Regions from separate parts of the Homo sapiens genome. Here region 2 is linked to region 1. Evidence: promoter capture Hi-C in human tissues and cell types (Jung and others, 2019). All regions are on one chromosome and are shown on one strand. Each heading gives the region's core, a stretch centred on a gene start or on the middle of the fragment in contact. The rest is flanking DNA. Distances are from core to core; before and after follow the strand shown.

What was found. The method cuts DNA at HindIII sites, captures the fragments that hold promoters and counts their contacts. A contact is called where the count stands out against the background at its distance.
Region 2: a fragment that was not itself captured here is called in contact with the fragment with the promoter of SPATA32 in region 1 in 1 of the 25 tissues and cell types used here (dorsolateral prefrontal cortex).

What each region holds. Positions count from the first base shown.
Region 1 is chr17:45,259,466-45,266,409 of GRCh38, reverse strand. SPATA32 (spermatogenesis associated 32) reads left to right here and starts at 4,316. Exons shown (of 5, transcript NM_152343.3): 1 at 4,316-4,406. The coding sequence starts at 4,394. MAP3K14 (mitogen-activated protein kinase kinase kinase 14) reads left to right here. Exons shown (of 16, transcript NM_003954.5): 15 at 1,147-1,247; 16 at 1,610-3,291. The coding sequence ends at 1,774. The region is part of intron 2 of MAP3K14-AS1 (MAP3K14 antisense RNA 1); the gene reads right to left. RefSeq lists enhancers at 3,275-3,878, 4,313-4,402, 3,879-4,484 and silencers at 4,433-4,482, 4,553-4,672. The HindIII fragment of the contact is 11,872 bases long and covers 818-6,944 here.
Region 2 is chr17:45,747,251-45,753,540 of GRCh38, reverse strand. The region is part of intron 3 of LINC02210-CRHR1 (LINC02210-CRHR1 readthrough); the gene reads right to left. Among named protein-coding and RNA genes, the nearest start is that of CRHR1, 34 kb to the left of the region's middle. RefSeq lists an enhancer at 997-1,908. The HindIII fragment of the contact is 8,319 bases long and covers 1-6,290 here.

The sequences.
Region 1 (6,944 bases), core at 3,067-5,566:
GAACTTGAGGTTCCTGGCCAGTAAGTTGGGTTTCAAGCAAAGGTCCCAATCACCCATGAGCCTTTCCTGATGGGGCAGTGAGGGACCATTATCCCCTCATTGTCAGTTGATGGAGTCCCAGAAGGTTCCCCTAGCTTGGGGAGGAGAGCAGTCTCTTGACCTGGAGTCAGGAAAATGAGCAATTAATCTCTTCTAAAGGGAAAAGGAACAGGACCCATGAGCATTTTAATCAAAAACTCAGCAAAAGGAATCCCCCTCTGGGATTTGAGGTCAGATGAGAAAGACAACATAAAATTCCTTCGTTTTCAAGCTTGATTGCATAGGTTATGATGTGGCTTTGCTACAACAAGGGCATCATCAGCTTGGAGTTCCCTGGCCCTCTCCAGGGCAAGTGTGACTCATGGCATCAGGGCCCCATGGCTGGCCAAAGGCCACTTCAACTCAGGCAACAATCTAAATTGCCCATAATCTAATTTAAGAATCCTTGTGTTCAGTTCCTTTCTGCTTTGCATCCAAGTTGAAATACTACTTCCCCATAGGAGCCAGCCCCAGCTCTTAGCAATGCACAGGCCAAATCCCAGGTGCTGACGGCCAGGAAGAACTAGCAGGTGTATATAATATGAGGGCTGTTCCAGCCTGAATTTTTTTTTTCTTATAAAAATGCAGCTTTGTGACCAGGTGTGGTGGCCCACACCTGTAATCCCAGCACTTTGGGAGGCCAAGGCAGGTGGATTACATGAGGTCAGGGGTTCGAGACCAGCCTGGCCAACATGGTGAAACCCCGTCTCTACTAAAAATACAAAAATTAGCTGGGTATAGTGGCGCATGCCTGTAATCCCAGCTACTTGAGAGGCTGAGGCAGGAGAATCACTTGAACCCGGGAGGTAAAGGTTGCAGTGAACTGAGATCACGCCACTGCACTCCAGCCAGGGCGACACAGTGAGACTCTGTCTCAAAAACAAAAAAATGCAGCTGTGCTTAGACCAGCCTAAATTTTATCTCTGCTGCTCCATCACAGCCAGACCTGCTCCCCCTACATAGGGCAGAGTGACTTTTAACAAAAACGTTCCCCCAGCCCCTGCCAGGACCCTGGTCCTTGGGGAGCCAGCAGCCGCTCTCCTGACTATCACCTTGTCCGCCTTCTAGGTGTGAAAGTCCAAATACAGTCTCTTAATGGTGAACACCTGCACATCCGGGAGTTCCACCGGGTCAAAGTGGGAGACATCGCCACTGGCATCAGCAGCCAGGTAAGGGGGGCAGGTACACTCTGACGGGCAGAGTCCCAGAAGCCAATGCAGCTGGCCCCACCCTCCAGGAGGAAAGCTTTCAAAGAAGTAGAATGGCACTCTAGGGAATACTTGGAATTGGCCTTCAACGTCCCCCAGGACCTCAAAGCATTTCCCAGGGCCTCAAAGCAAGGCTGGCAGTGGTGACAAAGAGGTCCTCCAGACCTACACTTGAGCCGGGTGGGATTCTCTGAGTCCCGTGGAATGACAGACAGGCAGTGCCCTTAGGGCTGCCGGTCTGGCTGGAAGGAGATGTCTTTACCTTTCTACATGGCTTGAGCCCTATGCCATGATCTCAGCCCACTGGTTTGCTCCACCCTTAGATCCCAGCTGCAGCCTTCAGCTTGGTCACCAAAGACGGGCAGCCTGTTCGCTACGACATGGAGGTGCCAGACTCGGGCATCGACCTGCAGTGCACACTGGCCCCTGATGGCAGCTTCGCCTGGAGCTGGAGGGTCAAGCATGGCCAGCTGGAGAACAGGCCCTAACCCTGCCCTCCACCGCCGGCTCCACACTGCCGGAAGCAGCCTTCCTGCTCGGTGCACGATGCTGCCCTGAAACACAGGCTCAGCCGTTCCCAGGGATCTGCCAGCCCCCGGCTCAGCAGTGGGACCAGGGCCTCGCAGCAGCAAGGTGGGGGCAAGCAGAATGCCTCCCAGGATTTCACACCTGAGCCCTGCCCCACCCTGCTGAGAAAACACTCCGCCACGTGAAGAGACAGAGGAGGATGGCAGGAGTTACCTCGGGAAACAAACAGGATCTTCTCTGCCCTGCTCCAGTCGAGTTGGCCTGACCCGCTTGGATCAGTGACCATTTGCTGGCAGACAGGGGAGAGCAGCTTCCAGCCTGGGTCAGAAGGGGTGGGCGAGCCCCTCGGCCCCTCACCCTCCAGGCTGCTGTGAGAGTGTCAAGTGTGTAAGGGCCCAAACTCAGGTTCAGTGCAGAACCAGGTCAGCAGGTATGCCCGCCCGTAGGTTAAGGGGGCCCTCTAAACCCCTTGCCTGGCCTCACCTGGCCAGCTCACCCCTTTTGGGTGTAGGGGAAAAGAATGCCTGACCCTGGGAAGGCTCCCTGGTAGAATACACCACACTTTTCAGGTTGTTGCAACACAGGTCCTGAGTTGACCTCTGGTTCAGCCAAGGACCAAAGAAGGTGTGTAAGTGAAGTGGTTCTCAGTCCCCAGACATGTGCCCCTTTGCTGCTGGCTACCACTCTTCCCCAGAGCAGCAGGCCCCGAGCCCCTTCAGGCCCAGCACTGCCCCAGACTCGCTGGCACTCAGTTCCCTCATCTGTAAAGGTGAAGGGTGATGCAGGATATGCCTGACAGGAACAGTCTGTGGATGGACATGATCAGTGCTAAGGAAAGCAGCAGAGAGAGACGCTCCGGCGCCCCAGCCCCACTATCAGTGTCCAGCGTGCTGGTTCCCCAGAGCACAGCTCAGCATCACACTGACACTCACCCTGCCCTGCCCCTGGCCAGAGGGTACTGCCGACGGCACTTTGCACTCTGATGACCTCAAAGCACTTTCATGGCTGCCCTCTGGCAGGGCAGGGCAGGGCAGTGACACTGTAGGAGCATAGCAAGCCAGGAGATGGGGTGAAGGGACACAGTCTTGAGCTGTCCACATGCATGTGACTCCTCAAACCTCTTCCAGATTTCTCTAAGAATAGCACCCCCTTCCCCATTGCCCCAGCTTAGCCTCTTCTCCCAGGGGAGCTACTCAGGACTCACGTAGCATTAAATCAGCTGTGAATCGTCAGGGGGTGTCTGCTAGCCTCAACCTCCTGGGGCAGGGGACGCCGAGACTCCGTGGGAGAAGCTCATTCCCACATCTTGCCAAGACAGCCTTTGTCCAGCTGTCCACATTGAGTCAGACTGCTCCCGGGGAGAGAGCCCCGGCCCCCAGCACATAAAGAACTGCAGCCTTGGTACTGCAGAGTCTGGGTTGTAGAGAACTCTTTGTAAGCAATAAAGTTTGGGGTGATGACAAATGTTTCCAGGCCATCGGTGTCCTCTCTCTTGCCTGCCGGCCTGCTGAACCTCACGACCCTAACAGCTGCCTCTCTTTGCCTTCTTGCTGAGATCTTTTCAAGTCCCCCTTGTTTTGGACAAGGACTGTTTCAGCCCTTGAGTGGGGCTGCTTTCCCACCACTCCTCCCAGTGGCTGCTTCTAGTCCCAACGCTGGGCTAGTCATTCAGACCAGTTAGGCAAGATACCTTGCCCGGTGGCATCAGGGAAGTCCCTCGCCAAAATATGCCAGGCTGAGGGGTGGAGGAGGAGGACAACAAAGCCTGCATGCTTTGTGCCACTGCCCAAGTTAGGCAGCCCCCTACCACCAGAAGGGAAATAGGGATGGGTTCTGGGCCCTGACCATCCAGGGATGCCGGATGCACACCACAGGCCCTCCACCCTCCCCTCCTGTCCTTGAGGCCTGGACTCTTAACCCTTTCCGCTGCCTCCTGAGCCCTGCATGGGGCCAGGGATGCCTTTGTGGGCTGAGTTCCTTGGTCATGGAGCTGGGGCACACGGGGTGCTGAGTTCCTTGGTCATGGAGCTGGGGCACACGGGGTGCTGAGTTCCTTGGTCATGGAGCTGGGGCACACGGGGTGCCTTATCGAATCTGGCTCCACACTCCCTGTGTGCACAAGTGTGTGTGCGCGCGGCTTGGGTTGGTTTAGCCGGTTCTTGGAAGGGCCCTGGGACCACGAAAAGGGCGGCAGCCCTGAGCCGCTGGCGTGCAGAGCGGGTGCAAGTCCTGTCCAGCACAGCCAGGCTTACCTGCCGCCTGCCTCTCGCTCTAGGCCCGCTGCGGAAGCGCGAGCCCCACCCCCGAGGTCTTCGGAGAGGAAGGAGTTCTGGCTTCGGGCCCGCAGCCTTCGGAGGACGCCTCACTCGGGCCGTCCCCCGTCCGCCCGCCCGAAACCTAAATGCGGCTCCCTGCCTGTGGGGTCGCGGCGGGGACGTCACAGAGGCGGCGACATCACAGGCACCGGCGCCTCTAATATTTCCAGCGCCCACCAGTCCCTCAGCCAAAGAGCACACTGGAGGCGGAGAGGCAGCATCCACCAGCCCGCTCCCCGCCTCCAGGACAGAGCCTCGGTCTGCATGGGGGTGACAGGTGGGAGCGGCCGAGCGCCCGGGGGCGAGGGTTGGGGCAGGCGGGGAAAGCGAAAGTGAGAGGGGGAGGGGCGCGAAGGGGGCGGTCAGGAATCCGCCCAGGGCCCGTTCCCCTGCTCCCAAACCCCCGGCACCTGAAAGGCAGGTCGACCCGCCGCCAAAGCCCACCCGGTGCCCCTGACTACGGCTCCCAGCCTCAGCCCCTGCGCGGTGCACACCCATGTGCTCTCACGGACACGCATGCGCGCCTTGGAGTAGGGACTGCAGAGTCAGTGGTTCTTGAAGGGGTTCTGAGACCACAGAAGGAGCAATGGCCTTGTGCACAGGAAACGACTCATGAATTATCCTGAACTGCAGATCCAAAAAATCACATCCAGTTGTCCCTCCTTGATGCTTGAGGCTTTGCAGGGAGGAGCGGCAGTCTTCAGCACATTTTTACGGAGCGCTTCGTTGATGCCTTGTACTCTTCTCTGAACCAATGAGCAAAGATGTTTGCCCCCAGTGCCCTGTGTCTCCCCTTCCCATAGGGGCGTCAGATCCCCCACTGAAATGGTGGCTTTCTTTTGGGGATCCTCTCTCCCAGAAGGGCATGGGCCAGCATTAAAAACGGTCAAAAATTAGGTGGGCATGATGGCTCAACGCCTGCAATCCCAACACTTCGGGAGGCAGAGGTGGGAGGATCACATGAGGCCAGGAGTTCAAGATCAGCCTAGGCAACATAGCGAGACTTTGTCCTCTACAGGAAATGTTTAAAATTAGACAGGTGTGGCGGCATGAGCCTGTAGTCCCAGCTACTTGGGAGGCTGAGCTGGGAGGCTCACTGGAGCCCAGGAGTTGCAGTGAGCTATGATGCTGCCACTCCAGCCTGGGCCACAGAGCAAGACCCTGTCAAAAAAAAAAAAAAAAAAACCAGAGGTCGGGTGCAGTGGCTCACGCCTGTAAGGTAAAACGTAGATTAGACAGCCAGGTCTGTCATGGAGAGGATTACACTGATTATTTGAATTGGGCTTTCAGGCATGAGTAGGACTTTGCCAGAAGAAGGCTTTCCAGGTATAAGAAATAGCATTTGCAAAGGCACTGGGTGCAGAAAGGCCTGCGGTACTCTGGGGGTAGCTTCGGCTTAGGGTGAGGGACAGGAAGCTGGATGCCAAGAGATGAAAAATGAAGGTAGAGATCAGACCAAGAGGCCACATGGAGTCTGGGGGTAACCGGAGACAAGTGAGATGTAGCAGGCTCACTCTGAGGTCATTGAAAATCCAGGTTGGAGGGGGACATAGTTGCAGTGGTCCCACTGGAAGACTAAAGAGATTTAAGACAGTGCAGTGAGTAGCATCCCAGAGTTTGGAGCCAGCCAGACCTGCCTTTGGGTCGTGTGCTGCTCTTAATAGCTGCATGACCTCATACACGTTTCCTCATCTGTGAGAGGAGAGCCGTGGCCAACTGGGCATAGGGTAGGTATGAAGACTGAATGTGCAAAGCACTCAGCACCAAGTGCCAAAGGGTAGGAAGTCATGGGTGTGTGCTGGCTCTGGTACTGGGAGATGAGGACAGCATCAGGGGTAGGAGGGCAGTAGCTGCGGAGGGAGGAGGAGTCACAAATGACCCAGGTTTCTCATTTGGGTGAAAGGATGAAGGATGAATAGGGCGAGGAGAGTGGGGTATGGAGAGATGACAGACTAGAAAGGGAGACAGGGGTCAGACAGGCAGAACCGTGGCAGCCACACTTAAGAGTCTGGACATACAAGATATGAATTTGAGGTAAGAAATTAGGCCAGGCATGGTGGCTCACGCCTGTAATCCCAACACTCTGGGAGGCCAAGATGGGAAGATCGCTTGAGCTCAGGAGTTTGAGACCAGCCTGGGCAACATACTGAGACCTCATCTCCTTTTTTTTTTTTTTTTGAGACAGAGTCTTGCTCTGTCACCCAGGCTGGAGTGCAATGGCACCATCTCGGCTCACTGCAACGTCTGCCTCCCGGGCCGAAGCCATCCTCCCTATCAAAACCTAACAAAGACATTACAAGAAAAGAAAATTATACACCGATATCCCTCATGAATATGCATGTGAAAATTCTGAAAAAAAGCCAATCAGATTCAACAACATAGAAAAAGGGTAATATATCACAACCAAATGAGGTTTATCCCAGTAACGCAAGGCTGATTTAACATTTTAAAAAATAAATTTATAGCTGGGCATGGTAGCTCACACCTATAATCTAGCACTTTGGGAGGCCACGGCAGGTGGATAGCTTGAGCCCAGGAGTTCAAGACCAGCCTGGGCAATATAACAAGACCCATCTCTACAAAAAATACAAAAATTAGCTGGGGGTGGTGGTGAACACGTGTAGTCCCAGCTACTCCAGAGGTGAGGTGGAAGGATCACTTGAGACAGGGAGGTTGAGGTTGCTGAAATTGCGCCACTGAACTCCAGCCTGGGCAACAGAGTGAGACCCTGTCTCAAAAAAAACAATGTATTTTACCATAAACAGAATATAAAAATATAAAAGAATTATCACTCAAATAATATAACATTACTCAT
Region 2 (6,290 bases), core at 1,255-3,754, 490 kb before region 1:
CACACAGCCACGAGCACACACGGCTCACTCCTTCCCCCATCCATGCGCACACGGCTCACTCCCTCCCCCATCCATGCGCACACGGCTCACTCCCTCCCCCATCCATGCGCACACGGCTCACTCCTTCCCCCATCCATGCGCACACGGCTCACTCCTTCCCCCATCCATGCGCACACGGCTCACTCCTTCCCCTGTGCAGCCACTTCCTTGCCCCGGCCAGTCTCCCCACACCTGCCCCAGAGGTGGTTACCCAGAATCTTTGTCCCGTCCCGGGGTTCCCCTAGTTCCCCCCCAACCTCAGCAGCAAATCTGCTCTCAAATTGGGGTTCAAAGGGGAAGTGCCCAGGCATTGGGATTGGTCCCAGGGATGGAAGTGCCCAGGCATTGGGATTGGTCCCAGGGATGGGAGTGTCAGCACTTAGGGAGGCCATGGTGGAGGAGTCTGGGGCCAGAGAGGGCAGGTGTGGTCTCAAGGAGAAAGGGTTGGGTCAACAGAGTCCCTGGCCCTGGCATATGTCCCCTCACCCAGTTCTGGTTATCTGTGGATGTACGTATGGCACACATAACCCCAATCTCAGTGCCTTAAAACAATACTTTGCTTTTATCATGTCTCACGATTCTGTGGATCAGGAACCTGGACAGGGCACAGAGGGAATGGCTCCTCTCTGCCCCTGGATGTTTATGGCTGAAGCTCGGATGGCTCAAATGGCTGGGAACAGGAATGGGGGGCCAGACAGGTCTCCACCCTCTTCCCCCTACAGTCTCTCCTCGTGGCCACCTTGGGCTTCCTCACTGCATGGAGGTCTCTGGGTGCCAAGAGTCTCTAGAGTTCCAGGCAGAAGCTGCAAGGTTCTTAGGACGTTGCCTTAGAAATCCTGAACATCACTTCCGCCACATTTTATAGGTTGCGCAAATCACTAGGGAGAAGCCCTGATTCAAGCAGAGGGGAGGCACAGATTCCACCCCTCAACGGGAGGAGTGACAAGTGACACTGAAAAGGAGAGAATGGAAGGCAGCCATGCTGGGATCATGCCACCCCCCGCCAGCTGCCACTCACCTGAGGGCAGCAGCTGTGTGTTTTACCCCCTCTCCCATGTTAGTCAACCTGACAACCTTCCTGTCACTGTCACTGCCTTCTGCATGGAGGCCGCAGCCTCAGTAACATGTCAGAATGCTTGTCTCACCTACTTAGCTGGAAATGTAAACCCTTCAAGGTCGAGACGGTCTCTTTTACGCCTTGCTGTCCTGGCTTTGACATTTTGGGTGTTTTGTTTCCTGAATCAGCGCTCCTCGACTGGACTCATTGGTCTTCTGCACCAGATACCCCCAGCTCCTCAACACATCCTTATTGAGTATCCTGGTCCCTGGCCCTCTGGAGTGGAAAGAGGTCCTAGCACCTCACCACCAGAGCCCAGGTGCTGGCCCAGATGGAGGTGGAGGATGGAGAGGAGCATACCCCAGGGGCTGTGGCCATGGCAGGCCTTGGAGCCCTCGGTGCTGGCGGCCACCTGGATTTATGCCTCTCTTGGGGATATGTGCCCTATGTGTCTACCTGGCCCCCACCGCTGCATTTCAGTGTTGTTGTCCTGGCCTTACAATGCAAACTGTGTTAGAGGATTACACTGTTTCTGGGAGAAAATTTAAAAGAAAAGATAAACAGCAAAAAACAGGGAGGGGACTCATAGTACCTTTAAATAAACTACTTTGTCAAAATATTTCTAAATAATGACGACTAGGATAAATCTACATTCAAGTCCTTGCACAGAAATCCAGGCAGCGGTGTGCTGAGAAGGCGAGGCATCCCAATGTGTTCTTGCCCCCGGCGGAATGCCACAGAACAATGAGGCTGGGCGGTGCAGAGCACAAACTGTTGATGGAAAAGACGATTTCTGCTCAGGAGGGCAGGGGCTTGCCTCTATCTGGGTCCTTTTCATTGCTCTACAAAGAATCCTTTCTTCCTCCCAGGCCGCACTAAGTAATAACAACTGGGGACTTTTCTCACGCCAACTTCTGAGCCGCTTCAAGTGTCATCTGGTTACCCATAAAATTCATACCTGGAATAGTGTCTTTGACCTTGGGCAAGTGTGCGTGTTGCCTGGCTCTTTCGCGGGATTCTGGGAGAGATCTCTCGGAGAGATGATGCTGAAATGTTGGCGGGTCGTGTGTATACTGTGGATTTTGTAGAGTACATAGTTTTTCCTTTTGGCCGCTGTTAGATTGGGGAAACCATGTGTTTCTCAGAAGGAGGAGCACAGGCCCTCTCCCTCCGCATTCCCGGGCACGCTGGCCCGGCTTCTCCAGCGTTTCCCTGCACTACAGGGAGCACCGTGTCCTGTGGGTGCTGCTGTACCTGGGTCTCCACCCACCAGTCTTCCGTCCCTGCAGGTCTTGGGTCCCTGGAATAATTTGCCTTGTCCCCCTCTGGGTTTCTGTGTTCATCTGAGCATGCTTTGCTGCCCTAGCTTTGATAATTTGAGGACTTTGCCTCCAGAATAGGTGCTCTTCACCTGGTACCGGTGGCCTTTGGCCACCCAGCCCCTGAGTGTCACTGTGTCTTACTGAGTGGGACAGTGGCAAGGGCCCAGCCGGCTTGGGAATGGGGGCTGGATCTGAATTCAGTCTCCACCACTCACTGGCTATGGGATCCAGGCAGGGTATTCAAGAAGCCTGGGCTTCTGTCTGCTCATCTCTAAAAAGGGGCTCATAAAATCCTCCTTACAGGGTTGGTGTGAGGATGATGATGCTTGCATGCCAATGGTCTGGCCCTCTGAAAGTGTCCAATAAATGACAGCTCTTGTTCCTCCCCTCGCCTTTACTGCTGAAGGCAGCAGTGGGCAGTCACTCCACACACCCTAACTATTAACTGTCTGGCCCAGGCCTCTGGAAACAAGCGCAACCCAAAGAGGCTAATTGAGAGGGGTGAGGGAGAAGTGATCTAGCCATCATGGAACCCCTATGTCTGGGTATTTTGCTGGGAGCTCCAGTTATCTCATTTAATCCTCAAAGATCCCTAAGAGAGAGGCACTACTACTATGATCATTTCAAAAAAAGAGGGACTTGGGGCTCACGGCAGAAGGTAGGTGTAGACGTAGACGGCTGTAGAGCTGGGATCCAAACCCAAGACTGGAACTGGGACCAAGGTGAAGGTTGGGTTTCAAAGAACTAAGAAGATAACAGGTGACTGGATACAGAATCTACCAACCCCCAGAAATACCCTCCATCTGGAAACAGGATTGAGGTAGGCGGATCCTACAGATGTAAGCAGATTGGCCCCCACTGTAGGGTGGGGCAGGGAGGCAGGCAGGCCTCTGGAGGCCTGTGGGGTCTATGGCACTGTGGCTGGCACAAATTCTACACATAAGGACTTGTTTACCCACCTGCTCTCTCTGCACAGTCTCTCAGAGCAGGGGCATCTGTGCCAGGAGGCAGGAGCAGCAGGCAGTATGGGGCCAATGGAGAGAGGTCCTTCAGCCTCTGGGACAGCACACCATGGCCTGTTCAGTCCTTGCCTGCTACCTGCTTCCCAGTTCCCTGTCCTTCTCCCTTCCATCCTGCAGATATCTCCCCAGCCTCTCTTCTCTCACCAACTCTCTGTACTTCTGACATTATTCCCTCCTTCCTCCCACTGGGATCTGAGGCCCAGAGAAGTGCCTCACTGGTCCGGGCACACAGCGAGTCTACTGCCTGGACCTGCTTTCGGACATGCTGAGATTCCGTCCCCTGCCCCGTGTCCTAGCGGGGCTGCTGCCTCATCCTCCCCCAGAGGCGAGATGGCACAGCCCCTTCAATGACAATGTCTCTCCTCCCATTACCGGGAACAGCCTCACTGACTGGCTGTCATAGAACTTTTGCAGCCTCAGGGGAACATGAGCTATCTCCCATCTCCCCAAGCTGTGAAACTGAAATACAGAAATAAAAGCCTTTCCTCAGGGGCCCTTCATCTCTTGGCAAATCGTGGTTAAGGAGCCCTCTTCCCTTGTCACAACTGCCCGGCTCAGGTTTAAAGCTGAGGGCACAGCAGACAAAGAGGGTAGGACGGGCACAGACCAAGCCACCATGGTGCCTGCTGAGTCCTGCAGTTCCGGCCTGACCCATGATAGGGGTAGGGAGGCAGACAGGCCTTTAGAGGCCTGCGGGGTCTACGACACTGTGGTTGGCACAAGTTCTATACATTAAGACTCGTTAACCCACCTGCCAGCTCAGCATAGGGCTCCTGGGCTAGGGGCACCCATGCTAAGAGGCTGGATTGAGAGATGGTGGCAGAGAGAACGAAACGTAACAGAGGAATAAACACTGGGCTTTAACATCAGGTGATACTCTCCCCGTCAATTATCCCGGTGGAGCTAGGGGATGGAGAGGACAGCTGCTGCAGCCTCGGCTCCCTTAGAGAGCAGACCCCAAGCCCTGGCTGTCCCACCCCACCGTCCCATGACTGGGCCAGCTGCTCTCAGGAGTCCCCTGGGAGTTCCCAAGCGAGCACCCAGGCCTCTTGCTTTGAGATTAGGCATTCCACTGTTTGCATTTGCTCTTAAGAAGGAAGTCACATCCAGAGACCTGTCTCTGGTGCTGAGTAACTCCCAGACTTGATGAGAGTCATTCGTCGCTCTCATTAACAGGGAGAGGCTGCCCAGACTTATGCAGCTGCATGTGATGAACAGGGCTGGGCACAACCACCCCAAACCGTGGACCGGGAGCTTCCCACAGGGCTGGAGGAGAAGCTCCAGGAGAAGTCTTGGAGTTTGAAGAAGCAAGACTTTCAGCTGGATGAGTCCCATCCAGTCCTGCTCTTAGCTAGCACCTGCTCTTAGAGGATATGTAAGGAGCCAATGTAACTGAAGAGTTAACACTGGGCTTTGGTATCCAGTGACTTTGGGTTCAAATCCTGGCTCTGCTACTTCCTATAGGTAACCTGACTTTTCTGAGCTGCTTCATCCTTATCGGTATGGAGGTGAGAGTAAGAGCAGTTTCACAGTTTCCATGCAGATCAAGTGAGGTCAAGCTGTAAAGCCTCCGGTGCACAGGCCATCAGTGCACAAAACTGGGCATTTATTACTGAGATGTTGCACAGGGCAGAGCACAGCGTGTGTTGGACAAATTTGCCTCATGAGGGTGAGAAAATTCTGGGCTGAGGCTTCTCAACAACCAGGGCAGCTTCTCCCTCCTTCATCGTCCTAGGGAAGACCCCCAGGGCATCTTTGGAATTTGGAGACACCTCATCTCCCAGCAGATAAAACGCAGGACTTGCACTTGGGAACTTAGGCCCCCAACAGACTCCCCCAGCAGTAGCAGAGGCAGGCCCCTCACATGCCCAGGGCAGGACCCAGAGACACAGACAGACGCTCCTTGGAGGAGCTGGAAACTGTCGGGTTCCTCTCACACAGACTCTGCAATGACGTCTGGAGCAGATGGCAGGGGCGGATGTTCCTGGCTGGGTTGACAGAGCCTCATGTGCCTGGAAATTCCCCCAGTTCCGGGGGATCCCTTCCAGATGTTCCCACCCACAGCCTGGCTGAGGAGGAACAGTGGGGAGCTAAGAAGCCAGGGCTGGAAAGCTGAGCCAGCCTTCTGCACAGAAAGGCAGGCAGCCACCCAGGAGACCAGTCCAGAGTCCCCAGTGTCCTCAATACCCAGCCACCTCCACCAACACCTCCCTAGGGTTCCATATTAGAGAGCCATTCCTTCGAACATGTCATTGCTATCTCAGGAGGGATAACACATAAAACCCCTTGCCACTCAAACTATGGCCTAGCAACATTAGGCATCATTTGTTGGAATCTCAGGCCCATCCCTGATCTCCTGAATGAGAATGTGCATTTTAACAAGATGCCCAAGTGATCCCATATGCACCTCTAGGTTGGAGAAGTGCTGCGTTAAGCTGCTATTGTCCACTCACTTTCTGAAATGCAAGCTCCACAAGGATATGGATTCTTTGTTTTGTTTACTATATCACACCCAAAGAGTCCCTTAAACAGAACTCATTAAATGCTTTTTGAGGCCAGGTGTGGTGGCTCATGCCTATAATCCCAGCACTTTGGAAAACCAAGGTGGGAGGAGTGGTTGAGGCCAAAAGTTTGAGACCAGCCTGGTCAACAGTTCCTACAAAAAATTTTTAAAAATTAGCTGGGCATGGCAACACTTGCCTGTAGTTTCAGCTACTTGGGAGGCCGAGGCAGGAGGATTGGTTGAGCTTAGGAGTTGGAGGCTGCAATGACCTATGATCATGCCACTTCACTCCAGCCTGGGTGACTAAGACCCTGTCTCTAAGGAAAAAAAAAAAAGCTTTTTGAATA